Regions from separate parts of the Homo sapiens genome. Here all the other regions are linked to region 3. Evidence: promoter capture Hi-C in 16 types of primary human blood cells and fetal thymus (Javierre and others, 2016). All regions are on one chromosome and are shown on one strand. The core of a region is centred on a gene start or on the middle of the fragment in contact, and the rest is flanking DNA. Distances in the headings are between cores, read along the strand shown. Region 1 has its middle 17 kb from the start of PLET1. Region 2 overlaps LINC02762 (long intergenic non-protein coding RNA 2762). Region 3 holds the start of TTC12 (tetratricopeptide repeat domain 12).

Region 1 (2,932 bases), core at 305-2,804, 1.1 Mb before region 3:
TTTTTCTTTTCTTTCTTTTTTTTTTGAAATGGAGTCTCGCTCTGTCGCCCAGGCTGGAGTGCAGTGGCGTGATCTCGGCTCACTGCAAGCTCCGCCTCCCGGGTTCACGCCATTCTCCTGCCTCAGCCTCCTGAGTAGCTGGGACTACAGGCACCCGCCACCACGTCCTGCTAATTTTTTGTATTTTTAGTAGAGATGGGGTTTCACCGTGTTAGCCAGGATGGTCTCGATCTCCTGACCTCATGATCCGCCCACCTCGGCCTCCAAAGTGCTGGGATTACAGGCATGAGCCACCGTGCCCAGCCAAAAGTCACTTTCTTTATACCAGATCTTGCTCTTGTTAACTGGACTCTGTAAGTGGCATGTGACTGAACCTGATTTTTGATTACATAAGGGCTAAGAATAATGTGCTTTATCGTATGTTTATTGCAGCACTATTTACAATAGCAAAGACTTGGAACCAACTCAAATGCCCATCAATGATAGACTGGATAAAAAAAATGTGGCACATATACACCATGGAATACTATGTGGCCATAAAAAAGAATGAGTTCATGTCCTTTGCGGGGACGTGGATGAAGCTGGAAACCATCATTCTCAGCAAACTAACACAGGAACAGAAAACCAAACACCACATGTTCTCACTCATAAGTGGGAGTTGAACAATGAGAACACATGGACAAAGGGAGGGGAACATCACACACTGGGGCCTGTCAGGGGGCAGGAGGAGGGACAGCATTAGGAGAAATACCTAATATAGATGCTGGGTTGATGGGTGCAGCAAACCACCATGACACATGTATACCTACGTAACAAACCACATTCTGTATGTGTATCCCAGAACTTAAAGTATAATTAAAAAAAAGTGTGCTTTATTAAAAAGACTTGGGGTCAATTTACGACAGGCTATTAGTATTGTTATTCTCTTGTGTAATTATTGATTTCAGCAAGAATTTATGAGTGTACTATGATTTTTAAAGCAAAACCTATTCTTAAACTAAGAATGCTTTTTGTCCCCTCCCCCATCCTGCCCTTTTTCTTTTGAGACAGAGTCTCACTATCTCCCAGGCTGGAATGCAGTGACACAATCACAGCTCACTTCAGCCTTGATCTCCTTGGGTTCAGGTGATCCTCCTGCCTCAGTCTCCCAGGTAGCTGGGACTCAAGTTCACACCACCACACCTAGCTAAATTTTTGCATTTTTTTTGGAAGAGATAGGGTAAAGTATCTTCTCTGAACATAATGTAATAAAACTAGAAATCAATAACAAGAGGAACCTTGGAAAATATGCATACACATGGAATTAAACAACATGCTCCTTGACCAAGGGGTCAATGAAGAAATTAAGAAGGAAATTTAAAAATTTCTTGAAGCAAATGAAAATGGAAATACAACATACCAAAATCTATAGGGTATGGCAAAAGCAGTACTAAGAGGGAAGTTTATAGCAAAAACACTTATAACAAAAAAGTAGAAATATTCCAAAGAAACAACCCAATAATGCACCTCAAGGAACTAGAAAAGCAAGAACAAACCAAACCCAAAATAGGTGGAAGGAAAGAAATAATAAAGATCAGAGAAGAAATAAGCGAAATTGAGCCAAAAAATACAGAAGATCAACAAAATGAGAAGTTGGTTTTTTGAAAAGATAAACAAAACTGATAAACCTTTAGCTAGACTAAGAAGAAACGTGAGAAGACCCAAATGAATAAAATCAGAAATGAAAAAAGGAGACATAACGACTGAGACTTCAGAAATACGAAGAATCATTAGAGACTATTATGAACAAGCATAAACTAATAAATTGGAAAACCTGGAAGAAATGAATAAATGAAGAAATGAAATTATACTTTTCATCTTCTATTCTATGTACAACATACCAAGAGTGAATTGTGAAGAAATAGAAAACCTCAACAAACCAATAGCTAGTAATGAGATCAAAGGTATAATAAAATGTCTTCCATCAAGGAAAAGCCTAGGACCTGATGGATTCACAGGAGAATTCAAACTAACATTTAAAGAAGAGCTAATATCAATCCTACTCAAACTCTTCAAAAAAAAAAAAAAAAACTGAAGAAGAGGGAATACTTCCAGACCCATAAGGTCAGCGTTACCCTGATACCAAAACTAGACAAGGACACACAACAAAAGAAAACTACAGACGAATATCACTGATGAACATACATGCAAAAATCCTCAACAAAACACTAGCAAAGTGAATCCTATAATACATCAAAGGATCATTGACTATGATCAAGTGGGACTCATCCCAGGGATGCTTCAAAAATGATTAAATTTACAGAAATAAACATGATGTACCATATTAGCAGAATCAATAACAAAAACCATATAATTTTTTCAATAGATGTCAAAAAGTATTTGATAAAATTCATCCCTTTATCATAAAAACCCTCATCAAAATGGATATAGAAGGAACATACCTCAAATTATTAAAGGCCATCTATGTCAAACTCATGGCTAACATCAGACCGAAAGGGGAAAATTTGAAGGCCTTTTCTCTAAAGACTGGTACAAGATAAGAATTGCCCACTTTTACCACTTTTATTCAACATGATACTGGAAGTCCTGGTCAGAGCAACTAGGCAAAGAAAGAATAAAAGGGCATCCAAATTGTAAAGGAAGAAGTCAAGTTAACCTTGTTTGAAGAGGACATGATCTTATTACTTAGAAAGACCTAAAAACTCCACCAAAAAACTGATAGAACATAAAACAAATTCAGTAAAGTTGCAGGTTACAAAATCAACATACAAAAATCAGTAGCATTTATATGTGCCAACAGTGAACAATCTGAAAAATCAAGAAAGTAATCCCATTTACAATAGCTGCAAAAAATATAAAATACCTAGGAATCAATCTAACCAAAGAAATAAAAGTTCTGTACAAGGAAATAAAATTCTGATGAAAGAAACAG
Region 2 (2,801 bases), core at 144-2,643, 1.0 Mb before region 3:
AAGTGCATGCCACCACGCCTGGATAATTTTTGTATTTTTAGTAGAGATGGGGTTTTACTATGTTGGCCAGGCTGGTCTCGAACTCCTGACCTCAAGTGATCCACCTGCCTTGGCCTTCCAAAGTGCTGGGATTACAGGCATGTGGGCCCCTTTTGCAGGTTTCTTTGAGAGAGTTATTGCTGGTTTGACAGAGAAGAGGGGCTCAATGAACACCTGTCTTCTTAGATGTTTAGGGGAGGGAAAGCAGCACCCAGAGGGCTGAAAGGCAGCCTCGCTGCTCTCCATTTGCCGTTGGAGGACAGACTGGCAAACAGGAACAGGCAGGTTAGAGATGAACAGCCAGGTCAGAAAGTGACTTTGATGGGAGACACTAACAAATGCTGCCTGTCTAGCCCCTGCCCTGTGAGCGAGGGAATGTGGGGCCTGCAGGAACTATAGGCTTTTGCATCTTCCTCAAGAGCAAAAAGCAATTTTTTTTTTGTGCCCTAGTGGATCAAGAAGGAGCTGGTGGCAGCAGGGTGAGTAGAGTGGTTGGGGAATGAATGAGATTTCCCTGTGGTTGAGGCGTGGGATGGAACGGACACACCAGCAGGCTCCCACCGACTCTCCATGCAAAAGAGTCCTGAGGGGCCCAAGCTCACCCATCTCATCATCTGCCAGACCCAGGCACTGCCCATCATGAGTCTCTGCCTTTGCTGCCTGTGGCACTAGGTTGTTGATGTGTAATGTAAATCGTGCCTCCAGTAAAGCAGCCTGACAGCGGGGAGTATGCTGATGAGAACGTGAAAGTGGACTGGGGAGGCTGCAGGGAGCTGGCAGCTTGAAGTCCCAAATAATGGGCCGTGGAGCTTGTCTGGTCCCTTGCGGTGGACTCTTGCCCATCCCACGCCTTGCTCAGTGGGATGAGGAAACCACAGGGTGAGGGATGGAGACTGAGGCTAGAGACCTTAGATACGGCTGTCCCAGAGACTGGTTACTTAGCTCACTGTCCCCTCCAACCAGGCAAGCTGTGGCACAGTGCCCGACATGCTCCTTAGAACGGTGGCAGCATTGCCATGCGCTGCTGTGCAGTAGGAGGACAGTGACGCTTTTTGCACTGCCCTTTCACATCTCTTAGTGCAGGCATTAAGATGAATCCATTTCACGGAGGAAGAGACGGAGCTAAGAGAAACTCAGCCAAAGTCTCCTGGCTTCCCAGTGACGGTGTTGGCCCTGTCTTACCGGATGGGAAACAGCACTCCACCTTACTTTATACCAGCTCTTGTAGCTCTAAAGCTTGTAGTTGTCTATCTTGAAAAATTTGCAGATTTTACACAATTACAGGGGAAAAAAAGAATGGTGACGTATGCTGCTTTATTTATATAGCTAGATTCATACATTTGTGATAGTTCTATTATGTCTCACAGTTACCAAAATTCTTTTTATCTGAGAATGGGGAGTAAGGGCTTTGCAGAAGAAGAGTCCTCTCCCCTCATCCTTATAACTGCTAAATTGAGATCCTCTAATTCACTTAAAGCTTTATTTATTTTTAACTTTTCATTTTGAATTAATTTCAGTTTTTTAAAAAAAGTTGCAAAAATAGTACAAAGAATTTCCATACACTCTTTAACCCAGATTCCCCCAAATGTTACCATCTTATATAACTTAGAGTATGATGATCAAAATCAGGAAATTAACATTGATAAGATACTATGATATAATCTGTAGCCCTAATTCGAGTTTTGCCAGTTTTCCCAATACTGTCCTTTTCTCGTCCAGGATCCAGCCCAGGGCCACACATTGCCTTTGGCTCTCACGTCCCCTTAGTCTCCTATAATCTGCGATAGTTCTTTAATTTTTCCTTGTCTCTCATTACCTTGACATTTTTGAAAAATACTGCCCAGTTATCATCTAGAACGTCCTTAATTTGGGTTTATGTCATGTTTCTTTGAGATCTAAATCCAGGTCATACATTTTTGGCAAGAATATCACAGAAGTGATGTTGTGTCTTTCCCAGAGCATCATATTAAGGAGCACATCATCGATTTGTTTTATTATTGGTGATGACTTTGACTTCCTGTTTAAGGTGGGGACTGCCAGATTTCTCTACCATAAAGTTACTATTTTTACTTTAGTAAAGCATTTTGTGGAGAGATGCTTTCTAGATATCCTGTTTCTCATCATATTCTGCCCTCTGATTTTAGGATTCTTTAATAATTCAGCCTGAAATAATAATTTATTTTTATTTATTTATTTTTTTTGAGACAGGGTCTCACTTTGTCAAACAGGCTGGAGTGCAGCGGTGCAATCAGCTCACTGTAGCCTCGACCACCTGTGCTCAAGCAATCCTCTTACCTCAGCCCCCCAAGTAGCTGGGACAGCCAGGCCCACGCTTGGCTAATTTTTTTTTTTTTTTGTATTTTTTTTAGAGACAGAGTTTCATCATGTTGCCCAGGCTGGTCTCAAACTCCTGAGCTCAAGTGATCCACCCACCTTGGCCTCCTAGAGTGCTAGGATTATAGGCATGAGCCACCGTGCCTGGCCTGAAATAATTATTACTGTGGAATTTAATTCATATATAAATATAAAGACAAATATAGGTATAAAACAAAATTAACAGAACTTTGTAGGCATATTGGCAGGATTGTATCACTTCTTACATCTGGAACACTATTTGCTTGGTTCTCTTCATATTTTGGTCTCATTTAGTACAGTTTAGTCAGTTGTTAAGTACATAAAATGTTGAACACCACATCTTTGCCACTGTGTTTACTTTCAAGAGTGACAATATTTCAGCTGCTGCCTGATCGTTCCATCTGATT
Region 3 (3,140 bases), core at 607-3,106:
CTGCTGGGATCCCCAGGTCTCCTGCTGCAGTTGATGAGCCAAAAGACTCACTCTGCTGATGCTGTACCCATTCAGCTGCCAAGAGGAGCAGAACATCCGTGGCCCCTTTGTGTTATACTGCATTAGAGGGGTACCCAAGCAGGATGGTATGTGTACCAATGCATCATAGAGACTTCAGCCAAACAGCTCTTCTGTTCTCTACAGGACACAGGCATGCATCCTATGGGGCCTAGGCCACAAGAGAGTCAACAGGCTGTACTTGGAATCAACACTAGAGCTAGCTGGCCATGCCTGGATCCCTCTCCCCTCTGGCGAATTCCATCTCTAGGGGCTCCTTGTTCCCTGCCAAACAGGTTTCCATAAAGCACTCATTTGCCAAGAAGTTCCGGGTGTTTCTGACCGTGAACTTAAGCTCAAGTTTCCCCTAAACCTGCTTTTTTTCCATTGGTAACCCTGCACATAATACTCTGAGATTTTGTTTAGAAAAACAGACTGAAATTTCTTTAGGGCTGTGTGCATGTATTTGGGGCATGAATGAATGTGCCTATTAGCTCATTCTGTTCTAAACCCTATGATTCCCCGGATGTCACGTGCCACCTGTTCCTACTGACTAGGTACCAGGCACTGAAACCACCATTGCAAAATTATAACTGAGATGGTGAAAGGGATCTGACCTAACCGACTCCATCTTGCTTCTCATCTCCAAGCTGTCTTTGTTCATTCCTAGGCATAGGCCAAACTAACTTTGGGGGGAACTTAGTTTATAGTGTAGCTTTGAAACAAAGACAATACCAGCCCTTTCCCAAACAAACCCCCTTCTTGCCCAGGAACTAGACTGCCTTTTCAGGACTAACAAATTAGCCACAAAATTAGAAATTATGGTTTAGGAGTCATGCAGCTAGAGGCTGCAAGATTCTAAACCTCAAATTGCTCCTGGGGATAACATCAACTATTGTAAAACCTAAGATCAGTGCTTAAGATATTTCACAGACACTGCACTCGATGGATCAGCTGGCACCACCCAGATGAATAAACTGGCTCATCTGGTCTTATGACCCCCACCTGGCAACTGACTCAGCACAAGAGGACAGCTTTGACTCCCTGTGAGTTCATCTCCTAGCCTACCAATCAGCACTCCCGACTCACTGACCCCTACCCACCAAATTATCCTTAAAAACTCTGATCCCTGAAAGCTAGGGAGACTGATTTGAGTAATAATAAAACTCCGGTCTCCCTCACAGCCAGCTTTGTGTGAATTACTCTTTCTCTATTGCAATTCCCCTGTCTTGATAAATCGACTCTGTTTAGGCAGTGAGCAAGGTGAACCTATTGGGCGGTTACAGCACTTTAACCATAAACCTTATGAGAAAGTGCCATTTCTCCATTTCACAGGTGAGAAAACTGAGGATTAAAAAGGTTACTCAAATAACTTTCCTAAGGATAAATGTGTGAGTCTTCTAACTCACACATTTATCAATGAACAAAACCGGATTCACAAGTACACTGGAGACTTTACATTTTGGGCAAGGATATTAAGCTAACGGGAGTGAGACAACCCTTCTTCAGTAGAAAAAAGGCGAGCAGCAGGCGCTGCTTTAGTTACCAGCACTTTGCTTCCTCCGTCTCCCCGCGCCAGGCATCGGGCATCCCAACCTCGACTTTGGCCTTCAACTTGGCGCGCTCCGGAGCTAGAGCTCTGCGGTAGCGAATCTGATCGCGTGTCCATGCCCGCCCCCTGTCCCGCCTCCTGGCTTTTGACCCCGTCCTTGGTCCCGCCCCGGGCCCTGGCTCCTGGCCCCGCCCTTGGTCCCGCCCCGGGCCCCTGGCTCCTGGCCCCGCCCCAGCCCAGGCAGGTCACTGCGCCATTTCCTGTCCAAAGCTGGGCGAATCAGGTCGGTGCCGCGGGGTACCCCGGAATCCCCCCTGGGAGCTGGTCCTGCACTGGCCTTCAGAGCCGAGCAGAGGACGCTGCTTTGGGCCCCAGAGCATGGGAAGGTCTTGGCTGCGGTCTGGGACGGCTGCGGTCTGGGACCTGCATGGAGGGCCCGGGACTTGCGGACGCCTGGGAGCGGTTGCTGGGCAACAGTGCGTGCGGCCTGGCCTCTTTGCGCCCGGCGGGCAGCGCGCGTCTGGGGCAGGCTCCGCGCGGGGCTCGGGCACAGGTCCCCGCTGCCGCAGCCCTACCGAGTGAAGCACTGAGCGCGGCGCCGCTTCGCCATCACCTGGCTCTGGCCCTCTCACCCTAGCGTAGGGGGGCACTGGCCAGGCAGTGAGGACCCTGAGATCCATGCCCTGGGAGACAGAGGTTGTCTCCTGTCCATGCACCCGCGCGCCTGCCTTCTAACCTTCATACCGTTGGGCAGATTAATTCACTGGACTAGGCCTCTGTTCCGTGGGAGTTGAAAAGATTTGACCTGGAAGAAACCCTAGCGATTATTCAGTTAAGCCGCAACCCCACCCCCTGTTTTATATAGGTAAGGGTGCTTCACGGTGAGGACTCGTCGCGTGCCTGGTGCTTTACATCAGTCCCCAGAATAGTCCTCGTAGTTTCTCTCTTACTGTTCCCATAGTATGGGTGAGGACTCTGAGGCTCGGAGAGGTTGTGAATTTAGCCAGAATCACACAGCTTGTAACTGGTGGAGATGAGGACACTGAGACTCGATTAAATCACTCGTAGTTTGTTCGTGGCAGATTACGTGTTAGAAGCGTGTTACACTACTATGAAACCTGGCCATAAATGAGAATCACCTGGAAAGTGTTTAAAATCTATATTCGTGTCTGGGCAATGTCCCGGGTTTACTGACTTGAAATCTCGGGCTACGGCTGAGGAAGCTGTATATTTAACAATCTTCCCGATGATTTTTATGATCTGTGGATGAACCACTGAGTACTGCTGGGTACACCACGGGGCCTTCTCGCACAAAAACAACTGTAAAATAATATCTGAGGTACCTAGAGCAGAAGAGACGCTGGTGAGCATGGTAACATTATGTTCTAATCCCTTCAGTCAATTTGTACCCTTTCTTCACTCTTCAGAAACAAGCCAAAGGCAGATTTTAAACAAGTATGGACATTTAGATGCAAATTGCCCCAAGTTTGTTACCTGTCACACATCCACATTTAAGCTTCTGACTAGACCA

The links. Contacts are between HindIII fragments. The CHiCAGO score rates a contact against its expected background, and 5 or more counts as called.
Region 1: a fragment that was not itself captured here is called in contact with the fragment with the promoter of TTC12 in region 3 in 3 of 17 cell types (monocytes, naive B cells and total CD4 T cells); the score reaches 5.7 in monocytes.
Region 2: a fragment that was not itself captured here is called in contact with the fragment with the promoter of TTC12 in region 3 in 4 of 17 cell types (total CD8 T cells, naive B cells, non-activated CD4 T cells and 1 more); the score reaches 10.8 in total CD8 T cells.

The regions. Positions count from the first base shown.
Region 1 is chr11:112,242,487-112,245,418 of GRCh38, forward strand. No RefSeq gene overlaps it. Among named protein-coding and RNA genes, the nearest start is that of PLET1, 17 kb to the right of the region's middle. The HindIII fragment of the contact is 7,112 bases long and covers 1-2,932 here.
Region 2 is chr11:112,299,526-112,302,326 of GRCh38, forward strand. All of the region lies in intron 2 of LINC02762 (long intergenic non-protein coding RNA 2762), which reads left to right. Among named protein-coding and RNA genes, the nearest start is that of LINC02762, 30 kb to the left of the region's middle. The HindIII fragment of the contact is 241 bases long and covers 1,274-1,514 here.
Region 3 is chr11:113,312,727-113,315,866 of GRCh38, forward strand. It overlaps TTC12 (tetratricopeptide repeat domain 12), which reads left to right and starts at 1,857. Exons shown (of 22, transcript NM_017868.4): 1 at 1,857-1,892. TTC12-DT (TTC12 divergent transcript) reads right to left here and starts at 1,730. Exons shown (of 5, transcript NR_199709.1): 1 at 1,604-1,730. RefSeq lists silencers at 1,668-1,917, 1,941-2,235, 2,128-2,227. The HindIII fragment of the contact is 13,389 bases long and covers 1-3,123 here.